4 separate regions of the Homo sapiens genome follow, and all the other regions are linked to region 3. The links are contacts of gene promoters, found by promoter capture Hi-C in human tissues and cell types (Jung and others, 2019). All regions are on one chromosome and are shown on one strand. Each heading gives the region's core, a stretch centred on a gene start or on the middle of the fragment in contact. The rest is flanking DNA. Distances are from core to core; before and after follow the strand shown. Region 1 overlaps FAM13A (family with sequence similarity 13 member A). Region 2 has its middle 12 kb from the start of TIGD2. Region 3 holds the start of NAP1L5 (nucleosome assembly protein 1 like 5). Region 4 overlaps FAM13A (family with sequence similarity 13 member A).

Region 1 (5,543 bases), core at 2,893-5,392, 260 kb before region 3:
AAAAGAATCCATAAAAGTGAAGTTAAACCACATTAAAATAAAAAGCTGTTTTTGCAGCCCTTTAACATGAACTGAATCCCAAAACTTTCTGTTGAGTTAGACCCTCAAGTCTTTGTCTATGAGATACAGTTAACATCTATCATGTCATACATTTATTTATTTTATGTTCCCTACTGCTTCTTCCACACACCACTAAAAGGCAAGTTCTGGCCAGACAAGGTGGCTCACGCGTGTAATCCCAACACTCTGGGAGGCTGAGGCGGGCAGATCACAAGGTCAGGAGTTCGAGACCAGCCTGGCCAACATGGCAAAAACCCGTCTCTACTAAAAATACAAAAAATTAGCCGGGCATTGTGGTGCACGCCTGTAGTCCTAGCTGCTTGGGAGGCTGAGGTAGGAGAATTGCTTGAACCCAGCAGGTGGAGGTTGCAATGAACTGAGATCATGCCATTGCACTCCAGCCTGGATGACAGAGCAAGACTCAGTCTCAAAAAAAAAAAAAAAAAAAAAAAAAAAAAAAAAAAAAAGGCAAATTCCACAAAGCTGAGGATTTGTTTTTATGTATCTCTTTTCTTGGCAAATATAGGTATTATTTGTTCAGTGAATGAGTTAATTATAGGTAAACTTATTCTATTTTTAAATGTGTATTTTGTTTTAAAGCTTTCATTGCAACTATATTTTCTGTGTTGTTTGTTTTTCCATTTCAAGTGAAGAGTATTTCAAAACTTTTATGGCTTTTATTGATTGTTCTAGGCCAACATTCAAACTTAGTCACCATTTCTATCACTATTTTTATTAGAAAGTCCATTCTGAATTCTAAATCGTGGCTTAAAAATCAACTTTTGGTCTAAAAACTGTAAGAGGGCACCTCTTTAAAAAGTGTTAAGAATTAATACAAATGCACTTTCTGTGCTTCTTAAGGAGGCAAGTCATCAATTTCCATAAATATAATTTTTTTAAAGTTTCTTTATGAATTTTCCTCTCACTGGAGTTGATGTTTTTCTGATTAGTAACTGTTGCTTTTGTTAGGGTTTGCACAATTTCTGCTTTGCAAATGTAAATTGTTACATGTTTTCAGCAATGGTAAAACAAAGCTGCTTCCTGTAAATCTATTCAGGAAGCAACTTTGCAAAAGACAATGCCTGTCACACTTAAAAGGAAGCCCTACATTTGGGTTGTAGTTTAAAAAGGGAATTGAGGATACCTCTGTGTCTTTCTTACTAACTACTAGCTTCTTCGTTCTTTTCTCTTCTCTCCTCTTGCTGAGAGTGCTTACATAGTCATCTTAATACTTCAAATGAGGTTTTGTTGTTGTGGCGGAAAAATTCAGTTTATTGTTGTGCACTTTTGTGTATTTTCTCTTTCTTTGAAGGAGATGATACTGAAGAAGTAGAACCAAGGGATTACTTCAATTATTTGGGCAGGCTAACTTGTATCCCTCTGTTTTTCTATTGTTTTGTAATTGAACCTAATCATCAGTTTTCCTCATATCTTCAGTTATATCTCACTCACAACTAGGACAAAAAATATTAAAAACTGTCTTTCTCACTGAAAAATCAAATAGGCTTCAGGATGTTGAAAATTGTGTTATTTTTTAATAAAGCAAAAAAGAGAAACACATAGTGACAATAACTGAGATTATTTTCCTGACGGATTTCTTATAGCATTTTCATTTGTTTATTGCAAAGAGGTGGGACATTACTCTTGCCTTGGTATAGATATTTCCACATGGGAATTGCCCTTCAGTGCTACTTTGAATTTAAGACAGTTACCTCTAGAACTCAGGAGAGGGAGATGACTTTCTACAACCCAGAATCCTTTCTTTCTGAGGGTCCAGTGTATTTTGAAAAGTCATTCTCAAAGCGATTTAAGTGCCTTCTTGCCGAGAACCAGGCAACTTCTACTGTGTATAATGGAAGGGTAAGGATGCGGTAGTTAAGCAAGCAGGTGTTCAGAGTGCATGGGTTTGAATTTGGTTTTAAACCTGCCTAGTGAAATTATTGTGGTAGACAGAATAACAACATCCCCTCACCCCCTTACCGCCACAAGAGGCTGATATCCTAATTTCCAGAACCTGTAAATATGTTACTTAACATGGATAAAAGGGACTTTGCAGATGTTATTAAGTAAAAGATCTTGAGATAGGAAGATTACTCTGGATTATCCATGTGGACTGTTAAGCCATTCTTGCATTGCTGTAAAGAAATACCTGAGACTGAGTATTTTGTGAAGGAAATAGGTTTAATTGGCTCGTAGTTCTGCAACCTTTGTAGGAAGCATGGTACTGGCATCAGCTGGGCTTCTCGGGAAGCCTCAGGAAACTTATAATTATAGCAGAAGGAAAAGGGGGAGCAGGCACATCACATTGCAAAGGCAGGAACAAATGAGAGAGTGGCAGAGGCAAGGAGATGCCACGTCCTTTTAAACGACCAGATCTCATGTGAACTCAGAGTGAGAGTTCACTCATCACCAAGGGGATGGCCCAAGCCATTCATGAGGGAACCATCCCCCATGATCAAACACTTCCCACCAAGCCCCACTACCAACACTGGAGATTACATTTCAATATGAGATTTGGGTGGGGACAAATATTCAAACTATATCATTCTGCCCCGGCCCCTCCCAAATCTCATGTCCTTTTCACATTGCAGAATACAATCATGCCTTCCCAATAATTCCCCCAAAGTCTTAACTCATTTCAACATTAACTCAAAAGTCCAAAATCTCATCTGAGACAAGGCATGTCCCTTTCACTTATGAGCTTGTAAAATCAAAAACAAGTTATTTAATTTCAAGATACAATGGGGTATATGCATTAGGTAAACACTACCATTCTAAATGGGAAAAATCAACCAAAAGCAAGTGTGAAATGCAGCAGGGCAGTCATTAAATTGTAAAGTTCCAAAATAATCTCCTTTGACTTCATGTCCCACATCCAGGGCACACTCATGCAAGAGGTGGGATCCTAAGGCCTTGGGCAGCCCTACCCTTTTGGCTTTGCAGGGTACAGCCCCCATGGCTAAACTTACAGGATGTTGAGCATCTGTGGCTTTTCTGCCTTGAGGTTGCAAGCTGCCACTGGATTTACCATTCTGGGATCTGGAGAGTGGTAGCCCTCTTCCCACAGCTGCACTAGACAGTGCCCTAGTGGGGACTCTGTCGGGGGGCTCCAACTCCACGTTTCCCCTCCACACTGTCCTAGTAGAAGTTCTCTCTGAGGGCTCAACCCCTGCAGCGGGCTTCTGCCTGGACAACCAGGCTTTCTCATGCATCCTCTGACATCTAGGCAGAGGCTGCCAGACCTCCTTAACTCTTGTATTCTGTGCACCTGCAGGCTTAACACCACATAGAAGCCACCAAGACTTACAGCTTGCATTCTCTAAAGTGTCAACTCAAGCTATACCTGGGCTCCTTTGAGCTATGGCTGGAGCTGGAGCTGCAGTGGCTGAGATGCAGTGAGCAGTGAGAGGCTCCAAAGTATCAGCTCAAGCTGTACCTGGGCCCCTTTGAGCCAGGGGTGGAGCTGGAGCTGGAGCTGGAGTGGCTGAGATGCAGGCAGCAGTGTCCTGAAGCGGTGCAGGGTAGCAGGGCCCTGGACATGGCCCAGGAAACCATTCTTTTTTCCTAGGCCTCTGGGCCTGTGATGGGAGGGGCTGCCAAGCAGATCTCTGAAGTGCCCTTGAGGCCTTTTGCTCATTGTATCGGCTATTAGCTCTTGGCTCCTTTTAGTCACGCAAATTTCTCTAGCAAGTGGTTGCTCCAAAGCCTGCTTGAATTCTTCTCCTGAAAAAGCTTTTTTTTTTTCCCTCTGACGCTTGGCCAGGCTGCACATTTTCCAAACTTTATGCTCTGCTTCCCTTTTAAATATAAATCCAACTTTTAGTCATTTCTTTGCTCTCACATCTGAGCATAGGTTGTTAGAAATAAGCCACATTTTGAACACTTTGCTGCTTAGAAATTTCTTCCACCAGATACCCTAAATCTTCACTCTAAAGTTCAAACTTCCACAAATTCCCTAAAGCATGAGCAGAGTGCAGCCAAGTTCCTTGCTAACGCATAACATGGGTGACCTTTACTCCAGTTCTCAGTAAGTTCCTCATTTCCATCTGAGATCTCATTTCCCTGACCTTCAACGTCCATATTTCTGTCAGCATTTTGGTCACAACCACTTAACAAATCTCTAAGAAGTTCCATACATTTCCTTGTCTTCCTATCTTCTTCTGTGTCCTCCAAACTCTTCCAACCTCTGCCTGTTACCCAGTTCCAAAGTCACTTCCACATTTTCAGGTGTCTTTAGAGCAATGCCCATCCTTGGTACCAATTTTCTATGTTAGGCTGTTCTTGCATTGCTATAAAGAAATATCCGAGACTCGGTAATTTATGAAGAAAAGAGGTCTAATTGGCTCATCATTCTGCAAGTTCTATAGGAAATATGGTGCTGGCATCAGGTCAGCTTCTAGGGAAGCCTCAGGAAGCTTACCTGGAGAAAGCAGAGGCAAGTGAGAGATGTGGGGTGGGAGGGAGGTGCCACACACTTTTTTTTTTTGAGACAGAGTCTCGCTCTGTCATGCAGGCTGGAGTGCAGTGGTGCAATCTCCTCAGCTCACTGCAACCTCCACCTCCCAGGTTGAAGTGATTCTCCTGCCTCAGCCTCCCTAGTAGATGGGACTGCCGGCATGTGCCTCCATGCCCAGCTAATTTTCATATTTTCAGTAGAGATGGCATTTCACCATGTTAGCCAGGCTGGTCTCCAACTCCTGACCTCAGGCAATCTGCCCACCTCAGCCTTTCAAAGTTCTGGGATTACAGGCGTGAGCCACTGCACCCGACCCACACACTTTTAAATAACTAGATTTCATGTGAACTCAGAATGAGAACTCACTCATCACCCTGGGGATAGCTCAAGCCATTCAAGAGGGAACTGTTCTCATGATCCAAACACCTCCCACCAGGTCCTACCTCCAACATTTGGGGTTATAATTCAACCTGAAATTTGGGCGGGGACAATCCAAACTGTATTATAAGCTCAATATAATCACAAGGGCCATTATAGGTGGCCGGAGAGTCAGATAAGAAGGTGTGTTGTGAGAGGAGGCCACAAGCTAAGGAATGCAGGAGATCTCTAGAAGCTAGAAAGTGAGGGTAACAGATTCTCCCCTAGGAAGGACCTGACCCCTGTTAAGACCTACTTTTTTGGCCTACTGAGACCTACTTTGGACTTCTGGCCTCTAGAACTCCAAGATAATAAATGTGTGTTGTTTTAAGCCACTAAGTTTGTGGTAATTTGTTATATCAGTAATAGAAATCTAGTATAGTGACCTTGGATAAATTCCTTAAGTTCTTTGGTGTTTCTTCATCTTTTTTTAAATAATAGCTTTATTGAAGTATACAGTCATGTTGAGAAATGCGTCATTAGACAATTTCGTACATGCGTGAGCATCACAGAGTATACTTATATTAACCGAGAGGTATAACCTACCCCACACCTAGGCTATATGATATAGTCTATTGCTGCTAGTCTGCAAACATGTGCAGCATGTTAC
Region 2 (6,369 bases), core at 2,762-5,261, 400 kb before region 3:
ATTAAAGTTATTTATTAAAATAGAATATTTAACATGAACTAATAAAAATGGCTTTCTACTCATGAAAGCACTGCAAGTCTGCAATAGTGTTCATTTGCTTCATTGGAATGAGAGTTTTCTGAAAACTATCCCAAATCACCTGAAATTAGATTGTTTCTTATCATTACAAGCCCTAAATTTTCTGCTCTGCTGAGATAATACAGACATACAAATACCTTACATGGACTTTGAATTATTAGTAGTATTCCTTATGCAAGATAGCTTTGTTATAGAATAGGATATCTCTAGGTAGATTTACATTCTTAGTTTTTAAGGGACTCTTTTTTGTTTTTGGTTTCCATTTACTTTATAATTGATTCTCATTCACTTGAAGATTTTTGTTTTATGATACCTAATAAGCTTAAGATGAGGACATGGGCCAGACGTGGTGGCTCATGCCTGTAATCCCAGCACTTTGGGAGGCCAAGGCGGGCAGATCACTTGAGCTCAGGAATATCAGACTGGTCTGGGCAACAAGAGGTGAAGCCCCGCCTCTACAAAAAATACAAAAATTAGCCAGGTGTGGTAGTACATGCTTGTAGTCGAGCTGCTGGGGGGTGCTGAGGTGGGAGGATTGCTTGAGCCCAGGAAGTCTAGGCTGCAGTGAGCCGTGTTCATGCCACCATATTCCAGGCTGGGTGACAAAGTGACACCCTGCCTCAAAAAAAAAAAAAAAAAAAAAAACATGAATTTTTTTTTATCACAATGCTATTATTCTATGTGTAATAAACTTATTTAATATAGAATAGTATTTGCCTTTAGTAACTTAATTATTTAGTGCCAATAATAAATCAGTGGTTTGCACAAAAACCATTTACTGTCACCTACCTTAAGGGACATAAAATATTGAGGGGAATTTTCCAGATAAAATATAATTTATTCCTCTTTTGAAGTATGCAGGGGGATATGGGTCTGTTAGGGCAGTGGTCCCCAACCTTTTTGGCACCAAGGACTGGTTTCATGGAGGACAAACTTTCCACAATGGAGGAGGTGGCGGATGCTTTCAAGATGAAACTGTTCCACCTTAGATCATCAGGCATTAGATTCTCGTAAGGAGCATACAACTAGATCCCTCGCATGCGCAGTTCACAATAGGGTTCGAGCTTCTGTGAGAATCTAATGCTGCTGCTCATATGAAAGGAGGTGGAGCTCAGGCCATAATACTTGCCCATCTGCCACTCACCTCCTGCTGTGCGGCCCAGTTCCTGACAGGCCACCAACCGGACCACACTGGTCTGTAGCCTGGGTGTTGGGGAACCCCATGTTAGGGAAAACAGGATGTGAAACGGTTCTCATCAGTAAAATGAAAGCTTTTCCTTTGACATCTCTTTCAGCTCAAACATTATTTTACTTCATATTATAGACGAACCTTAATTAGAAAATATATATAAAAAATATAAATAGAAAAAGATATCCTTTTGCATAAAGGTAGGGACACTTCTCCACTTGAAAGTGTCTAGACACAAGTGAAAGTTCTGATTACTCACTGGAAAATCCCAGATCATTTTTAAGAAGTTGGTAAGTTACAATACTGAAAGATAGTGAGTTCTGAGACTCTTGAGTCATGTAGATGCCCAGTGGGGAACTTTTAAACTTTGTTTTGTTTTCTTTGTTTCTTGGTTGGCTGGTGGATGGTAGGTTTTCAGATGGCTGGGAGCATAGGCAAAGGTAAGAGAATGAGTTCCCAGGAGGGTAGAAAAGATTTAGTGGGGTTTAAAAAAGAAGTGAAAATTATTGGTGGCGATGCTTAAAGAAAAGTTAGACTCGTTTCCTGAAAATCACTTAGATGTAAATTGAAGAAACCAGTGAATTGGCTGATTGGTATGAGAAATATGAGTAGGAAATGTGAATGAAAATTATATACCCTGCTTACCTTTCCAAGCCTGCCCAATTTCCAACATTCTTTAGAGGAGCCCTCAATTCTGTCCCAGGTTGGTAAGGTCAGGTTAACTGAGAGCCCATTGTGCGTCACACCACTCATTCTCCCTCTCCTCAGCACATGCAGCTTCATAATTTTGAGCTTTTCATGCTTCCCCTTTAGTCTGGGAAGCTTTCTTCTTCCTCTGTACATCCGTACGTCCTTCCAAGTCCTACTTTGTCCCCAAAGCCACATTTATCAAGGTTGCTCTTCAAACCCTGTGGGTTGGAATCACCTGGAGTCCAATATATAGATTTCCTGGGCTCACACTGGGGATGAAGCCCAGGAATCTTTATTTTCAGTGATCATCCCGTGTGATTCTATTACACCAAAGTTTGAAAACCTTTTATGGTTAACAACTGTTTGAATATAAAATTCCTCCCTTATAACATATTCTTTTGGAAGGGAGTTTTTCTTCCTCCTCTTTTTTCTTCTTATTAAATTGTACACAGTCTTTGAAGAACAAGATAAGATACAGAGAAGCAAAAAGGAAAATAATAATGCCAACATATAGAGATAACTATTCTTAACATTTTACTGTATATCCATTACTTTCGTTTATTTGAGACAGAGTTTCGTCCTTGTTGCCCAGGCTGGAGTGCAGTGGTGTGATCTCGGCTCACTGCAAACTCTGCCTCCCAGCTTCAAGTGATTCTCCTGCCTCAGCCTCCTGAGTAGTTGGGATTACAGGCGTCCGCCACCATGCTCAGGTAATTTTTGTGTTTTTAGTAGAGATGGGATTTCACCATGTTGGTCAGGCTGGTCTCGAACTCCTGACCTCAGGTGATCCACCTGCCTTGCTCTCCCAAAGTGCTGAGATTACCGGCATGAGCCACCATGCCCAGCCTCCATTACCTTTCCTATATCAATTTAACTATCCTATAGTCCCACCTTAGCCTCCCGAGTAGCTAGGACTAGAGGCATGCACCACCAGACCAAGCTAATTTTTATTTTTTGTACAGATAGGCTCTTGCTTTGTTGCCCAGGCTGGTCTCGAACTCCTGGCCTCAAGCAGCCCTCCCACCTTGGCCTCCCAAAGTGCTGGGATTTCAGAGCTGATTCACTGTGCTTGGCCCTTTATATATATGTACTTTTATACGTGCTTTTTGCAGTAATGTATTATAAATCTTATATTGTGATTCTCATTAGCCAAATACCACCAAGAACACACTTGTAACCAAAACTAGGCTTACTACTCTAGCAAGGGAGAGTCATACCTTGGAAAACAATGGGTATCGCATTAAGAGGGAGTCAAGAGAGGCTTATTGTAGGATTTGGGCTTAGCTAAGGTGATTTTAGGGAAGGTTCAAGAAAGAATCTGTTCTCAACTGGGTGTTGTCAGAAAGCAGAAGCAATTTGGGTATTGGGTATATTACAAATTTTTATCTAGGAAGCTAGAGGAAGAGAGAGAGGCCAGAGCTGTCACTAGAGAAGTTATCCAGGAGAGCAGGATGTTTGGTTATTTTTGTGGTTACACAGTATTTTTCCCCCATCCCCTTGTTAAATTTCTATTCAAGCAAGATTATGAGGTGATCTTGTTTTTGTCTTGTTTCACCACAGTCATGGCAGGTCCTCCTCTGATGTTGATTTCCACAAAATTATTTAGGTTTCATAGGGTAAATACCATGCCTACCTTGTTCATAGCATTCAACACATTCTCAAAGGATTCATGATCCAAAAAAATTTAATAATCCTTGAACTCATTTAGGCTTACAGCTATTCCTAATTCATTTGATTAGATGTATCAGGACATAATTCTACCTTCGTGAGATTCTCTTATGCTTGAAAAAGACAATTACAGTCATCTATTGCTTAATGATGGGGATGTGTTCAGAGAAATGTGTTTTTAGGCAATTGCATCATTGTGTGAATGTCATAGAGTGTACTCATACAAACCTAGATGGTATAGCCTACCACATACCTAAGTTATATGGTATAATTTGTTGCCTCTGGGCTGTGAACTCTACTGTACTGTACAAATCCTGTAGGCAGTTGTAACACAATGTTAACTAGTTGTGTGTCTAAATATATCTAAACGTAGAAAAAGTACAGTGAAAATATGATATTATAATCTTATGGGACCACCATCATATACTCAGTCTGTCATTGACTGAAATGTCATTATGTGACCCATAACTATATTAACACCTGGCTTGAATGCTTGTCCATCCAAATAATCCCTTCAATGCTTCATGATAGTGTTTCTTAAACTCCAATCAATTTTAGACAGGTTTCTCAACTTTTCTTCACTTATACAAATCCTGTACCATTAGCAGTAATACCCCATTGTCCCCAACACTCCCTTCTGCTCTTGACAACCACTAACCTACTTTATGTCTCTATTTTAGTTATTTTATATAAACGGAATCATATAATATGTGTCCTTCATTTAGCATGTTTTCAAGGTTCATCATTTTATAGCATGTATCAGTATATCATTTTCTTTTACTGCTGAATAATATTCCACTATATGGATAGATCACATTTTATGTATTCCTTCATCAGTTGCTTGGTTTCTGCTGTTTGTCTATGAACATTCATGTACCAGTTTTTGTGTGGACATATGTCTTCATTTCTCTTGGGTATATAACTATGACTAAAATTGCTTGATCATATGGTAACTGTCTGTTTAATCTCCTAAGGAAATATTTTCTAAAGCAGCTAGATTATTTTACAAAAAATGTATGAGGCTTCCAAATTCTCCACATTCTCACCAATACTTGTTATTATCTGTCTTTTTTATTATAACCATCCCAGTGGGTGTGAAGTAGTATCTCACTGTGGTTTTGATTTGCATTTCCCTGGTGGCTAATTATATTGAGCTTCATGTCATGTGCTTATTGACCATATGCATGTCTTTTTTTGGAGAAATGTCTCTTCAGGTCCTTTACCTGGTTTTTATTTGGGTTGTAATAGTTCTATGTTAAATGTTGCAATTTACTGTTTCCCTATTGGCTTTCTTAGAGGGGAAGCATAAGAAATAAACTTTTGAGAATTATCTCTGTATTTAGCCCAACTGATGTTGAACATACTGCTCATGATGTACTCTATCATTTTATTTCAGGATTTATTTGATAAAGTCTGGCTATATTTAATGAAAAAATATGACCAGATGAAATTTGACTTCTTTTGTCTGACACAAGAACTAGATATGTCCATTTTAACATTGACTTCTATAAATCTGTATGCTTTATTTTGTGTTTACTTGCTCTATTAATTCACCTTGAATTCTTACCACTTTTCTTCTCCTATCCATTAAGTTCTATTTTAAGTATGTTTTAATGGTGAGTCTCTTTTTATATTATAATTATCTTGACCATTGTTTGGAAACATGTAGCGTAAACTAAAATTAAGAGACTTGACAGGCAGTGCATCTTAGTGATAAAGCTTATGGTTCCTGAAACAGTCTTTGGTTTGTACTTCTGACTGCCACCTACCACCTATGGAACTTTGGGCTGGCTATATAAAATCTTTCACTTATGGAAAATGGGAATAAAGATCATACTGATTTTTTTTTTGTTTTTGAAGAATGAACTGAAATGGTATGTATACATTGTTTTGCAGAGTGTCCAACACATAATAAGCACTAATACTAGCTATGATTTTATTATTTCCTAGATCTTCCAACCTGAAGGAAGTACTCACATTTTCTTAAGCTCCTAAGGAGGCTTTGAAAAGAGATATAGATAGCTAAAAGCCAACTACAGTGAGAAATGTCAGATTAATTTATATACCCATGATGAATTGTAGACTATTTGCAAGAATGGAATATATATATATTCCATCATATATATATATATTCCATCATATATATATATTCCATCATATATATATATTCCATCATATATATATATTCCATCATATATATATATTCCATCATATATATATTCCATCATATATATATTCCATCATATATATATATTCCATCATATATATATATTCCATCATATATATATATTCCATCATATATATATATTCCATCATATATATATATTCCATCATATATATATATTCCATCATATATATATATTCCATCATATATATATATTCCATCATATATATATATTCCATCATATATATATATTCCATCATATATATATATTCCATCATATATATATATTCCATCATATATATATATTCCATCATATATATATATTCCATCATATATATATATTCCATCATATATATATATTCCATCATATATATATATTCCATCATATATATATATTCCATCATATATATACCATCATATATATATTCCATCATATATATGTATTCCACCATATATATGTATTGTCCATCATATATATGTATATTCCATCATATATATATATATATATATGGAGAGAGAGAGAGGAGAGTTGTAATTAAAAGGGGGTTCACAAAACTACCTGAATATTGTCTGTTGAAAA
Region 3 (5,985 bases), core at 2,646-5,145:
GTAAGAAAGAAGGGCGGGAAGAGGGGAATGGAATTAAGGGTATGTACAACAGTATCAGTAATTTGGAATTAAGGGTATGTACAGCGGTATCAGTAATTTTTTTCTTTTATTAAAAAATCTGAAGCAAATACCTGTTGACTGTGGATCATATATACAAATGTTTGTCACATTAACTTTTTGTATTTTAGATTAAAAACAATTTTAAAACTTCACATCATGAAGATAGTTATTTACTACTTATCCATCACTGTAATTTAATACTTCATAAAGCTACATTTGAATTATTGGGTTTCCTCCAAGCAGATAGTTTTTACATGTTCACCATCCACACCAATAACTAGCCAACAAATGGTGTAATACAGTGGATAAGTGAGGCAGACAGGGGTTCAAATCCAGGCTCTGCCATCTTCTGTATCTAACTAGTAAGCCTCCCTTTTCCCATTTTTAAAATGGTATAACTGTGCAATCTTTAAAATAAAGCCACTAATGTAAAAAGATTATTGTGCATGTTAATCATTGATGCTGAAAGTTTCTCACACCGTATATAACACCTCACTTCTCTGAAACCCATGACACTAAACTAATGACATTTTTCTGATACAATTACCCAAGAGAAACACCATCACAACAATTTTTATTACAGACTGTGATGGTTAATTTTATAGGTCAACTTGGCTAGGCTATGGCATCCAGTTGTTTGGTCAAACACCAGTCTGGATGTTGTTAAGATATTTTTTTAGTTGGGATGAACATTTAAATTCATTGACTTTGAGTAAAGCAGGTTACCCTCCATAATGTGGGTAGGCCATATCCAATCAGCTGAAGGCCTTAAGAGAAAAAGACTTGAGGTCCTCCAAAGAGGAAAGAATTCTCCCTCCAGACTGTCTTTGGACTCAAGATTTAAATATTAACTATTGCCAGAATTTCTAGCCTTACAGCCTACCCTGCAGATTTCGGGTTTGACAGCCCCCACAATCACATGAACCAATTCTTTAAAATAAATCCCTCCTTGCCCCCACCCCCCTCGGCTTCACACCCTGTTGGTTCTGTTTCTCTGGAGAACACTGACATATAGATTTCGGTACTAAGAAGTACAGTACTACAACAGCAAATACCTAAAAACGCAGATGTGCCTTTGAAATGAGGAAATAGGTAGAGCCTGAAAGAGTTTTGAGGAGCTTGATAGAAAAACCTAGATTTCACTTAAGGGACTATTGGTAGAAATAGCTCAACAGTCTCAGGAAGCAGCCTGAGACTCTCACCATCTACATGCCCAATCTTGAACCTTTTAGCTAGCAGCCTCCGGTCTTCCTTTTTAGCAACACTAAACAGATTAAAGCCACTTTGGGAAACAGTGTGGCAGCTTCTTATGAAGTTAAGCGTACATTTACTGTATGACCCAGCAATCCCACTGCTAGGTGTCTACCCAAGAGAAATAAAAGTCCATGCTCATAGAGAAACCTGTAGATGAATGATCACAGCATTATTCACAATTATGAAAAACTGCAAACACCACAAATGGGAATACTACCCAATAATAAAAAGTAAAATAAAAAATAATAAAAAATAAATTTACTAATATATACAACAACATAAATCAATCTCAAATGTACTCTGCTAGTAAAAAAAAAAAGCCAGGCTCAAATGGCTACATTCATATGATTCAATTTACCTGACATTCTGGAAAAAACAGAGGTACTGAGACAGAGAACAGCACAGTGCTCACCAGGGCTGGATGCTGGGGAAGGGCCACAACGGACTTTTAGGGGACTATTTACTGTTCTATATCTTGATTACTACAGTGCTTACATTACTGTATTTGCTTGTGAAAGCACGCCCAAAAGGACAAATTTTACTGTTATGTAAATGATACCTCAATAAGCCAGACTTTTTAAAAAACAGTCTGGTTTAACACTAAGTTTTAAGATCTGTTGAGACAGGAAAATAAAAATCTTGAAAGATGAACATGCCCTAAATATTTTAAGCAAGTTAAGTTAGTCAAATGAATTTAACCAAAATGTGGGATTTTTTTTTTAAAGTCTGTCACAACATCCATACTATAGGGGTCAAAAGGCCTGTTTTCTGCCCCTGCATCTGCCAATTAAGTGATACATGCAGTAAGATGATTTCACTGTATTTGCTTCTAAGTTTACTATCTGTAAAATGAGAAACATCATTCCTAATCTCAAGGCAGCTGTAGCCATCAAAAGAGATGATATATGGGAGTGAGAAAGAAGGCAGAGAAGATGGTGAGCCAGTAAGAAGATGGTGAGCAGGGTAAAGAAGACGGTTGGGGGAAGGTGGTGAAGACCGTGGGGGAAGGTGGGGAAGAAGACAGATCGTGGGGAAGAAGATGGTGGGCAGGGTGGGGAAGAAGAGGGTGGGGCTGCGTGGGTGGGTGGGGAGGAAGAGGGTGGGGCTGGGTGGGTGGGTGGGGAAGAAGAAGGCGGGGCTGGGGGTGGGTGGGAAGAGGGTGGGGCTAGGGGGTGGGGAAGAAGAGGGTGAAGAGGGTGAGGAAGAAGAGGGTGAGGAGCGTGAGGAAGAAGAGGGTGAAGAGGGTGAGGAAGAAGAGGGTGAGGAGCGTGAGGAAGAAGAGGGTGAAGAGGGTGAGGAAGAAGAGGGTGAGGAGCGTGAGGAAGAAGAGGGTGAAGAGGGTGAGGAAGAAGAGGGTGAGGAGCGTGAGGAAGAAGAGGGTGAAGAGGGTGAGGAAGAAGAGGGTGAGGAGCGTGAGGAAAAAGTTCGGTGGGGGGAAGGTGAGGAAGAAGGCAGTGGGTGAGGAAGAAGGGGGTGAGGAGGGTGAGGAAGGTGGGGAAGAAGAGGGTAAGGAGGGTGGGGAAGAAGAGGGTGAGGAAGGTGGGGAAAAGGACAGTGCGGCGGGGGGAAGGTGAGGAAGGAGGCAGTGAGTGGGGAAGAAGGCGGGGAAGAAGATGGGCAGAAGGTGGGGCATAAGTCAGTGCGGGGGAGGGGCAGGAGGGAGGGAGAAGATGTGGTGTGGAAAGGTGTGAAAACAGATAGTGGGGAAGGCAGGGAAGCAGACGGTGTTGGGGGAAGGCAGGGAAGACGAATGTGAGCGGGGTGGGATAGATGGCACATGCTTTAACCAAGATAAGAGGGGGCCTTGGCCCTGGGCCCCATGCTTTAGAAAGACTTGCTTTTTTTCAGCCCTCCTCAAGCTTTAGTCCTTCCCACAGGCCAAAGATTCTGTAGGATCTTCTAGAACACACACCAGGACACCGGGAGCTCTGAGATTTCCTACCCAAATGGCTCCAAAACTGCTTCCAGGGGAGTCCTGCTGAGAGACGACCTTGCCACCAAGATATATGCCGCTAGGTGTGTGGGATGGCCAAGGGGGTGTTGGGTGGACACATAGGTACAGAGCTTGGATATGCAAGCTGCCCTATCCACACACATGCACCCCAGGTCCCCAAAGGGGTGGAATGGAGCCAGCTTGCCCGTTCCTCCACTGCATGGAGAGGAATGCGGAGGAATCTAAGAGGTGATCAAACGCCAGCTATGGAGAGAGATGCAGAGGAAAGCGAAGACATATGCACTGGCATTTGTAGAAGGGCCTGGATGGGGGTGAGGAGCACACGGAAAATGGTCTGAGGCCATCTATGCAGTTCCTGAAGAAGCACCTCGGGCAGCTACTGACACTCCCAGCCCAGCTCTACAGGGGTGGGTACATGGGTGGGCTGGGAACAGGGTGTCTGTCCAACAGGCGGGTGTTGAGGGCCCAGAAGATGTCAGGGTAGCAACAGGAGGAATCTGGTGCAGTATGAGCACACGGCCGTCAGCTGATAGTGGGAAGCCAGTCAAGTGCCGCGAAAGCAGGAGGCGGGGCCGCGGCCAACGTCATTCCCGCGGCCGCACGTCACCGCCACTTGCCGCATCCGCAAGATCTCTCTGGACCAGCTCGGGTGCAGGGCCTCTGCGGGAGCCCTCCTAGACCTCTGCGGCTTCTCCTCTAACATGGCCGACTCGGAAAACCAGGGGCCTGCGGAGCCTAGCCAGGCGGCGGCAGCGGCGGAGGCAGCGGCAGAGGAGGTAATGGCGGAAGGCGGTGCGCAGGGTGGAGACTGTGACAGCGCGGCTGGTGACCCTGACAGCGCGGCTGGTCAGATGGCTGAGGAGCCCCAGACCCCTGCAGAGAATGCCCCAAAGCCGAAAAATGACTTTATCGAGAGCCTGCCTAATTCGGTGAAATGCCGAGTCCTGGCCCTCAAAAAGCTGCAGAAGCGATGCGATAAGATAGAAGCCAAATTTGATAAGGAATTTCAGGCTCTGGAAAAAAAGTATAATGACATCTATAAGCCCCTACTCGCCAAGATCCAAGAGCTCACCGGCGAGATGGAGGGGTGTGCATGGACCTTGGAGGGGGAGGAGGAGGAGGAAGAGGAGTACGAGGATGACGAGGAGGAGGGGGAAGACGAGGAGGAGGAGGAGGCTGCGGCAGAGGCTGCCGCGGGGGCCAAACATGACGATGCCCACGCCGAGATGCCTGATGACGCCAAGAAGTAAGGGGGGCAGAGATGGATGAAGAGAAAGCCCACGAAGAAAAAAGCCTGGTTTTGTTTTTCCCAGAATATCGATGGACTTAAAAAGGCTCAGGTTTTTGACCAAAATACAATGTGAATTTATTCTGACATTCCTAAAATAGATTAAATTAAAGCAATTAGATCCTGGCCAGCTCGATTCAAATTTGACTTTCATTTTGAACATAATAAATATATCAAAAGGTGTTAAAGAAAACTGAATTAAACCCAAAATTATGTTTTCATGGTCTCTTCTCTGAGGATTGAGGTTTACAAAGGGTGTTAGCAGATGCGAAGTAAAGAACGTCACTTTGAAACCCATTCATCACACAGCATACGCTACACATGGAACACCCAAGCCATGACTGAACACGTTCTCAGTGCTTAATTCTTAAATTTCTTTACTCATGACATTTCGCAGTGCAGAGAAGGCAGAACCCAAGAAAAACGTCATCTTTGAGACTTTGCTTTTGTAACGCAGACATCAGCTTTACACTTCACAGGAGATTGATGGCATTGAGGAAGATTGCAATGGAGATCATGACACTACTGTTAATAAGGCCAGGAAAACTGCCATTTCAAGTTCTGAAAAATGTTTTGAGTATTTGAATTTAGAGAAACAACATGGTTCCAAGAAGGAGGGTGTAAAACCTGTAAAATACTGTCAACATATGTATTCATTAGTTACAATCTCATGTTTGTGTTTTCTTAGTACTGTCTATTTACAAACACGTAAAAAATACCCCAAATATGTTTAAGTATTAAATCACTTTACCTAGCGTTTTAGAAATATTAATTTACTTGAAGAGATGTAGAATGTAGCAAATTATGTAAAGCATGTGTATCCAGCGTTATGTACTTTGCGCCTTGTGACGTCTTTCTGTCATGTAGCTTTTAGGGTGTAGCTGTGAAAATCATCAGAACTCTTCACTGAAGCTAATGTTTGGAAAAAATATATACTTGAAGAACCAATCCAAGTGTGTGCCCCTACCCCCAGCTCAGAAGTAGAAAGGGTTTAAGTTTGCTTGTATTAGCTGTGCCTTCATTATTTTGCTATGTAAATGTGACATATTAATTATAAAATGGTGCATAATCAAATTTTACTGCTTGAGGACAGATGCATACAGTAAGGATTTTTAGGAAGAATATATTTAATGTAAAGACTCTTAGCTTCTGTGTGGGTTTTGAATTATGTGTGAGCCAGTGATCTATAAAGAAACATAAGCTTAAAGTTGTTTATCACTGTGGTGTTAATAAAACAGTATTTTCAAAAAATATATATAAAAGACTCGGTACTGTGACTGCCTGCATTCAAATCCCAGCTCTGCCTCCTATTAGTAATGTACCTTAGGCAACTCAGCTAATACTCTCAGTGGCCAGTTTCTCCTCATCTACAAAAGGGAATAGGAATAGTCCCTTCCTCATGGGTTACTATGAAGAGCAAATGGATTAA
Region 4 (6,043 bases), core at 2,957-5,456, 290 kb before region 3:
CTTCTATAAAGAAGAGCTTTCCCTTGTCAGTGGGGAATGAACAACATTAAATTTTCCTGTGCTCAAATTATCCCAAATTTGGCAGTTGTGGGAGTCCCTTTAGGCTGGCAACTGTGTCCTTTTGACAAAACCCTGTAACAGTATTTCCTACCTTTTCAGCTAAAGATGATGTCTCAGGATGGAATTAACCATTTCTCCAAGGGGCTTTGGTTTCTTCTATAGAAGAATTACATTTAGAAGCCAAGATCTGGGTGCTAAGTTATTTGCATCTAGGTCTTAATGACTTCTAGAGCAAGGAAATAAAGAAAGAAATGAATACTTGAATGATGGAATGACTGAATGGAAGAAATAATGGATTTATATTGATATTTTGAGTTTAATTTTAACATTATAATAATCTTTCTTAACAACTTTGATTTCATATTTGTAACTCTATACTCTGACAGTGAAAATCTTGCTTCCTAAAAAATAAGAATATTTATTTGCTTTTCTCCACAACATAATAAAATGTGTATTTTATGTATAGATATAAATAAAGTGTCACAACATCAGGGAAACCACTGAGTAATGTTTAAGACATCCGGGCAGTCCGTACTGTCCTATATCTGGCTAAGAGAATGCATTCAAAGTAAAGGGTGGTTGTCTTCGCCATTTGGCATATGGTTGAGTTCACTTGTTTCAATCCATTTCCAATTTTAGAATGCAGAGCTTCTTTTCCTTTTCAATGTAATTTTGTTTAAATTTTTATAACACTTACGTGGCTTAAAAGTGAAAATTGGTCGGGCGCGGTGGCTCATGCCTGTAATCCCACCACTTTGGGAGGCTGAGGCAGGCGGATCACTTGAGGTCAGGAGTTCAAGACCAGCCTGGCCAACATGGTGAAACCACATCTCTACTAAAAATACAAAAATTAGCCAGGTGTGGTGGCAGATGCCTGTAATCACAGCTACTTGAGAGGCTGAGGCATGAGAGTCACTTGAACCCGGGAGGTGGAGGTTGCAGTAAGCTGATATTGTGCCACTGCACTCCAGCCTGGGAGATAGGGTGAGACTCAATCTCAAAAAAAAAAAAAAAGTGAAAATTATGTAAAGAGAAAGAGGTTTACTCAGAAGTTTCCCTTTTATCATTATTCTTTCTATACTGTTCAACCTCTTGGTGTCTTTGGAAAACATTTTTATTAGTTTCTGGCTTATCCTTCAATGTTTCTTTTGGTAAAAATAAGTGTGTATATGTAGTTACATTTTGTGTATTATGTGATGTCTATATGTGTGCATTCTTATTTCTATGTGTTCCTTACACTGTTCTTCACTTTGCTTTTTATCTGCAAATCTTAGAGATCATTCCAACAGTTTTTTTTTTTTTATTCTTTTTTGTGCTTGTGTATTACTTCATTGCTTGGACAAAGTAAGTTTTAGTCAATGGTACTTTTCTGATGGTCGTTTGTTTCCCATCTTTTACTGTTAGATATGATCCCACATCAAATAAACTTGTGCATATGTATCACCAAGATTAATTCCTAAATATGAGATTTTTGGGTCAAAGAACAAATGCCTCTATATCATTAGATAGCCCTAATTCCCCTCCACAGAGGATGAGTCAGTGTTACATGTCTGTTAGCAGCATGCAAGAGTGTCCATTTTTCAGTCTTGCCAAGAGGATTTCGCAAAAATTTTGAAGTCTTGCCAGTCTGATAGGTCAGATGTGATATCCCAGTGTGGATTTTTTAAGTTTTAAGAGTTTTATTGAGACACCGTTTATATACCGTACAATTTGCCATGTGAAGTATATAATTTGTTGGTTTTGAATAGATACAGAATTCTGTAACCATCACCACGGTCACTTATAGAATATTTTCATCACCCCCAAAAGAAATGCTGTACTGTTAGCAGTCACTTCCCATTTCTTCCCAATCACTCCCCACAACAACCTGGCTCTAGGCAACCACTCATCTACTTTCTGTGTCTAGAGAGTTGCCTATTCTGGACATTTCATATAAATGTAATCATACAATATGTGTTCTTTTCTGACTGGACTCTTTCACTTAGCAAAATGTTTTCAAGGCTCATCCATTTTGTAGCATGTGTCAGTACATCATTCCTTTTATGGCAGAATAATATTTCAGTGTAGAGACACACCAGTTGATGTGTTTATCAACTCATTAGTTGGTGGGTATTTGTGTTACTTCTAGTTTCTGGCTATTTCGAATGATGCTGCTGTGAACATTTGTGTACATGTCATGTGTAGAATTATGTGTTCATTTCTCTTGGGTATATAACTAGGAGTAGAATTGTTGGGTCTCATGGTAACTGTTTAAAATTTTGAGGAACTACCAAAATGTTTACTGAAGTGGCTGCACCATTTTACATTCCCTCATGCATTTGTTCCCTCATATATTCCCATCAGCAATGGGATGTGCTTATCATGCAAAAAGAGACTAATATAAAATAAATATTCAAAGAAAAATAAAACCTGAGGACCTAATAGGAAAATGGCAAAAGACAAAAATATATGAAGAGAAAGACACATGGCCATGTACATTCCCATCAGCAATGTATGGGCGAACCAGTTTCTCTACATCCTTGTTAATATCTTTTTTATTCCATTCCTGTGGGTATGAAACACTATTTCATTTTGGTTTTGATTTGCATTTCCCTGATTACTAATGACATTGAATATTTTCATGTGCTTATTGGCCATTTGTATATTTTTGGAGAAATGTTTATTCAGATCTTCTGCCTATTTTTAAGTTGATTTATTTGTCTTTATTGATGAGTTATAAGAGTTGTTTATATACTTTGCATATAAATTCCTTATCAGGTACAGGACTTGTAAATATTTTCTTCTATTCTATAAGTTGCCTTTTCATTTTCTTGATCATGTCCTTTTAAGTGCAGAGGTTTTTATTTTTGATGGAGTGCAATGTATCTGTTTTTTCTTTTGTCACTTATGCTTTTTGTGTTGTACCTGAGAAAGTTTTGGCTAACCAAGATCATGAAGATTTATTCATCTTCTAAGAGTTTTTTAGTTATGACTGTTATGTTTAGGTCTATGGAGCTATTTTGGAGTTAACTTTTGTGAATGGTATAAAGGAGTCTAACTTCATTCCTCTGCATGTGGCTGTCCAGTTGTCCCAGCATCATTTGTTGAAGATTGTTTTTCCCCATTGAATTATCTCAGCACTCTTGTCAAAAATAAGTTGACCACAATTATTGGGGCTTATATCTGAACTCATAGTTATATTCCATTGATCTGTATATCTATTCTTATGTCAGTACCATAGTATTTTGATAATTCTATAGCTTTTTAATGAGTTTTAAAATCATGAAGTTTCAATACTCCAAGTTTGTTCTTCTTTTCAGAATTATTTTGACTAGTCTAGGTTCATTGTATTTCTCTACAAATTTTAGGATCAGTTTGTAAATTTCTACAAAAAAGTTAGTCAATATTTTGATAGGATGTTCTGTTGAATCTGGAGACCAATTTGGAGAGGACTCTATTGCCATTTTAGCAAAATTAAATCTCCCAATATGTGAGCATGAAATATTTTTCCATTTACTTAGGTCTTTAATTTGTTTCAATACTGTTTTATGGTTTTCAGGGTACAAGTTTTGCAATTATTTTGTTAAATCTATTATCAAGTATCTTTTTCTTTTAGATGCTATTCTAGATGTAATTGTTTTCTCAGTTTTATTTTCAGATTGCTCATTGCTAATACCAATATAGTTTTAATTTGCATGTGTTTTCTTATAAATGAAACTAAACATTTTTACTTGTGTTTAAGGGCCATCTGTCTTTTTCCTCATATACCTGTTTGTATCTTTTGCCATTTTCCTATTAGGTGCTCAGGTTTTATTTTTCCTTGTTGAATACTTATTTTGTTTATTTTTAGTCTCTTTTATCCATCATAATCACACTTAAAACTCTAATTTTCCTCTCAGTATTACTTTGTCTCCTCATTTTCACTATTATTTTACCACTTGATATAATAGGTTGGGTTATCCAAGGTATAACTCTGAGACTAAGTTTTCAAGCAGAAGTTTTATTGGGTAGTACTTTTTGGAACCATTCTTTCCTTATACCTATAAGGAACAGAGGAAGGTAGGATTAGGCAGAAGTTGAACTGCCATCAAGTTGTAACACAGGATTCACTCAGTCCCAGGGGAGCTGAGAAGATGGGATGACCTTTCAGATAAATCCCTAGTTGAGTCAAAGGGTTTAGTCTCCTTACCCCATTTCCATCAATCACTGGAGGTGAGCTGTGCCAGGGACATTGTGTAGTCTCAGAAGAAGGACTTAGCCATGAGCCATAAGCAGGCAACACTTTGAGTGAGATTGGGTGGATAATGAATACTTCTGGCATGAAGGAGACACCTGGGCATCACCTCACAGAGTCACTACATAAATATTTTCTTTTAAAAATTCATTAAACCTTGGACTGTGAGCTATATATGTTGTATATGATTTTTCTAAGGAAATCCCCAATATCCCAGTTTCTAAGGCAAAAGTCCTCTGAATACTTTATCATTCTTAGAAATTAGCAGGAATTGCTTCTGTAAGTTTTGATAGTTATTAAAATGAGTATTGGATTTTCAGTGGTTTGGATAGCATGACGTATAAAAGGAAGTTAGTCTAGTTCTTATTCTGCCCATTAGTAGTCCTTATTCTACTAATGCAGGTAGATTTGGCCTGCATTATTTTCCTGTTAAATTTTTGTAAAACAGGACCCACAGAGTTTGCTTTGAAATTTAAGTGAGACTGTAAGAGAAAGTCCTCATACATTGTAAGCAATTGGCAGAGTTAGAATCCATGTGCATTTAATTAAATACATTTAAAATTGCATTAAGGGAAAGATCAGGTTTTATGGGCTCTGCCCATCGTACTAGTTAATGAACTGGGCTCTTTAGAAACATGAGATGGAAGACATGACATTGCTCTTAACCTCAGTTGTCATAGTTCTCACTTAGAACAAGCTTCTTACAGTATTGAGTATGCTTGTTAATATTTAATGGAATAGAAAATGTTCTTACCCAGTAAAATTTCTCAACACAAGCCAACTTCTTCAACTTAGTACTTGTATCAGACACCTTCTGACCTCCTCAGATTGCCTTGGCTCTACCCGCCTCTCAGACCAATCTGCTTCCACCAGGCTTGGACCTTTCTCCTGCCTTGGGAATGCTAGATTCTTCTTCTTGGCTTCTGCCTTATAGCTGGGTCAACAAGCCACCTGCTCAGAGTTTCTGGCTTCTGCCATCACTTTTGAACCCTAGACTCGGATCTTAATTCCTGATAGGGTATCAGAGGCATGGGATATGGCAACCTGGAAATCTAGAACAGTTAAATAAGAGTCAGGAAGAGACATGGACTTTTTTTGTTCTTCCCATGGAACACATTTCTTCATCCCATGGCTTCTCCTTGCAGCTTATCTGGGGAATTCCAGACTGCCAAGCAAAGCATCTGTCGAGCAAACTGTTATGTGTCTTTGTAGTTCTTTGTGAAAGAGCTATGCATACTTTACATTATTTCATATCCCTGCTTGCCTCCTTTTCTCACCCACCCTGCCTGGTATCCCTGCTGTCAAAATAATACACCAACATCCTCATCATTGCCTTGTTTTCTTTGGGTTTCTTGAGGATCTGCTCTAAGGCACTGTGTACCTAGTGATGTAGCAGACAGTTCTAATACATTAGGAAAATCTATTTTCTTAAGATTAGGTGAGAGATTTTATACTTTAAGAATATTTAAGGATAACATTGGGTATGCATGAGATTCATTATATTAGAAATACCTAAATATTTTTTATTTGCCGTTGTTTAGAGTGTATTTAAAAATCTGATTAAGTGATATTGATGCACGGACCAAAGCCTCGGCTTTTGGTTCTGGGTTTTTTGTTTGTCTGTTAGTATTCTTGGCACTTTGCATTAAACTCATTGTGCACACTTAGTTTGTACAATTTGATAACATGTATGTCTTTAATTTCTAATAATTAAATTTGCTATTGCTACTGATGAGTAAGTCATTTTGGTCAAATTTTGCTTCATATCTC

The links. The method cuts DNA at HindIII sites, captures the fragments that hold promoters and counts their contacts. A contact is called where the count stands out against the background at its distance.
Region 1: a contact is called between a fragment that was not itself captured here and the fragment with the promoter of NAP1L5 in region 3, in 1 of the 25 tissues and cell types used here (pancreas).
Region 2: a fragment that was not itself captured here is called in contact with the fragment with the promoter of NAP1L5 in region 3 in 2 of the 25 tissues and cell types used here (IMR-90 fibroblasts and dorsolateral prefrontal cortex).
Region 4: a fragment that was not itself captured here is called in contact with the fragment with the promoter of NAP1L5 in region 3 in 1 of the 25 tissues and cell types used here (mesenchymal stem cells).

What each region holds. Positions count from the first base shown.
Region 1 is chr4:88,956,332-88,961,874 of GRCh38, reverse strand. All of the region lies in intron 4 of FAM13A (family with sequence similarity 13 member A), which reads left to right. It overlaps LOC105377327 (a long non-coding RNA gene), which reads right to left. Exons shown (of 4, transcript XR_938977.3): 4 at 2,223-4,480. Among named protein-coding and RNA genes, the nearest start is that of FAM13A, 98 kb to the left of the region's middle. The HindIII fragment of the contact is 3,831 bases long and covers 2,227-5,543 here.
Region 2 is chr4:89,096,695-89,103,063 of GRCh38, reverse strand. No RefSeq gene overlaps it. Among named protein-coding and RNA genes, the nearest start is that of TIGD2, 12 kb to the left of the region's middle. RefSeq lists enhancers at 1,293-1,442, 1,553-1,792. The HindIII fragment of the contact is 6,274 bases long and covers 875-6,369 here.
Region 3 is chr4:88,695,739-88,701,723 of GRCh38, reverse strand. It overlaps NAP1L5 (nucleosome assembly protein 1 like 5), which reads left to right and starts at 3,895. Exons shown (of 1, transcript NM_153757.4): 1 at 3,895-5,811. The coding sequence starts at 3,970. The coding sequence ends at 4,518. The region is part of intron 23 of HERC3 (HECT and RLD domain containing E3 ubiquitin protein ligase 3); the gene reads right to left. RefSeq lists an enhancer at 3,746-3,805. The HindIII fragment of the contact is 8,909 bases long and covers 815-5,985 here.
Region 4 is chr4:88,981,168-88,987,210 of GRCh38, reverse strand. The region is part of intron 4 of FAM13A (family with sequence similarity 13 member A); the gene reads left to right. Among named protein-coding and RNA genes, the nearest start is that of FAM13A, 73 kb to the left of the region's middle. The HindIII fragment of the contact is 4,885 bases long and covers 1,764-6,043 here.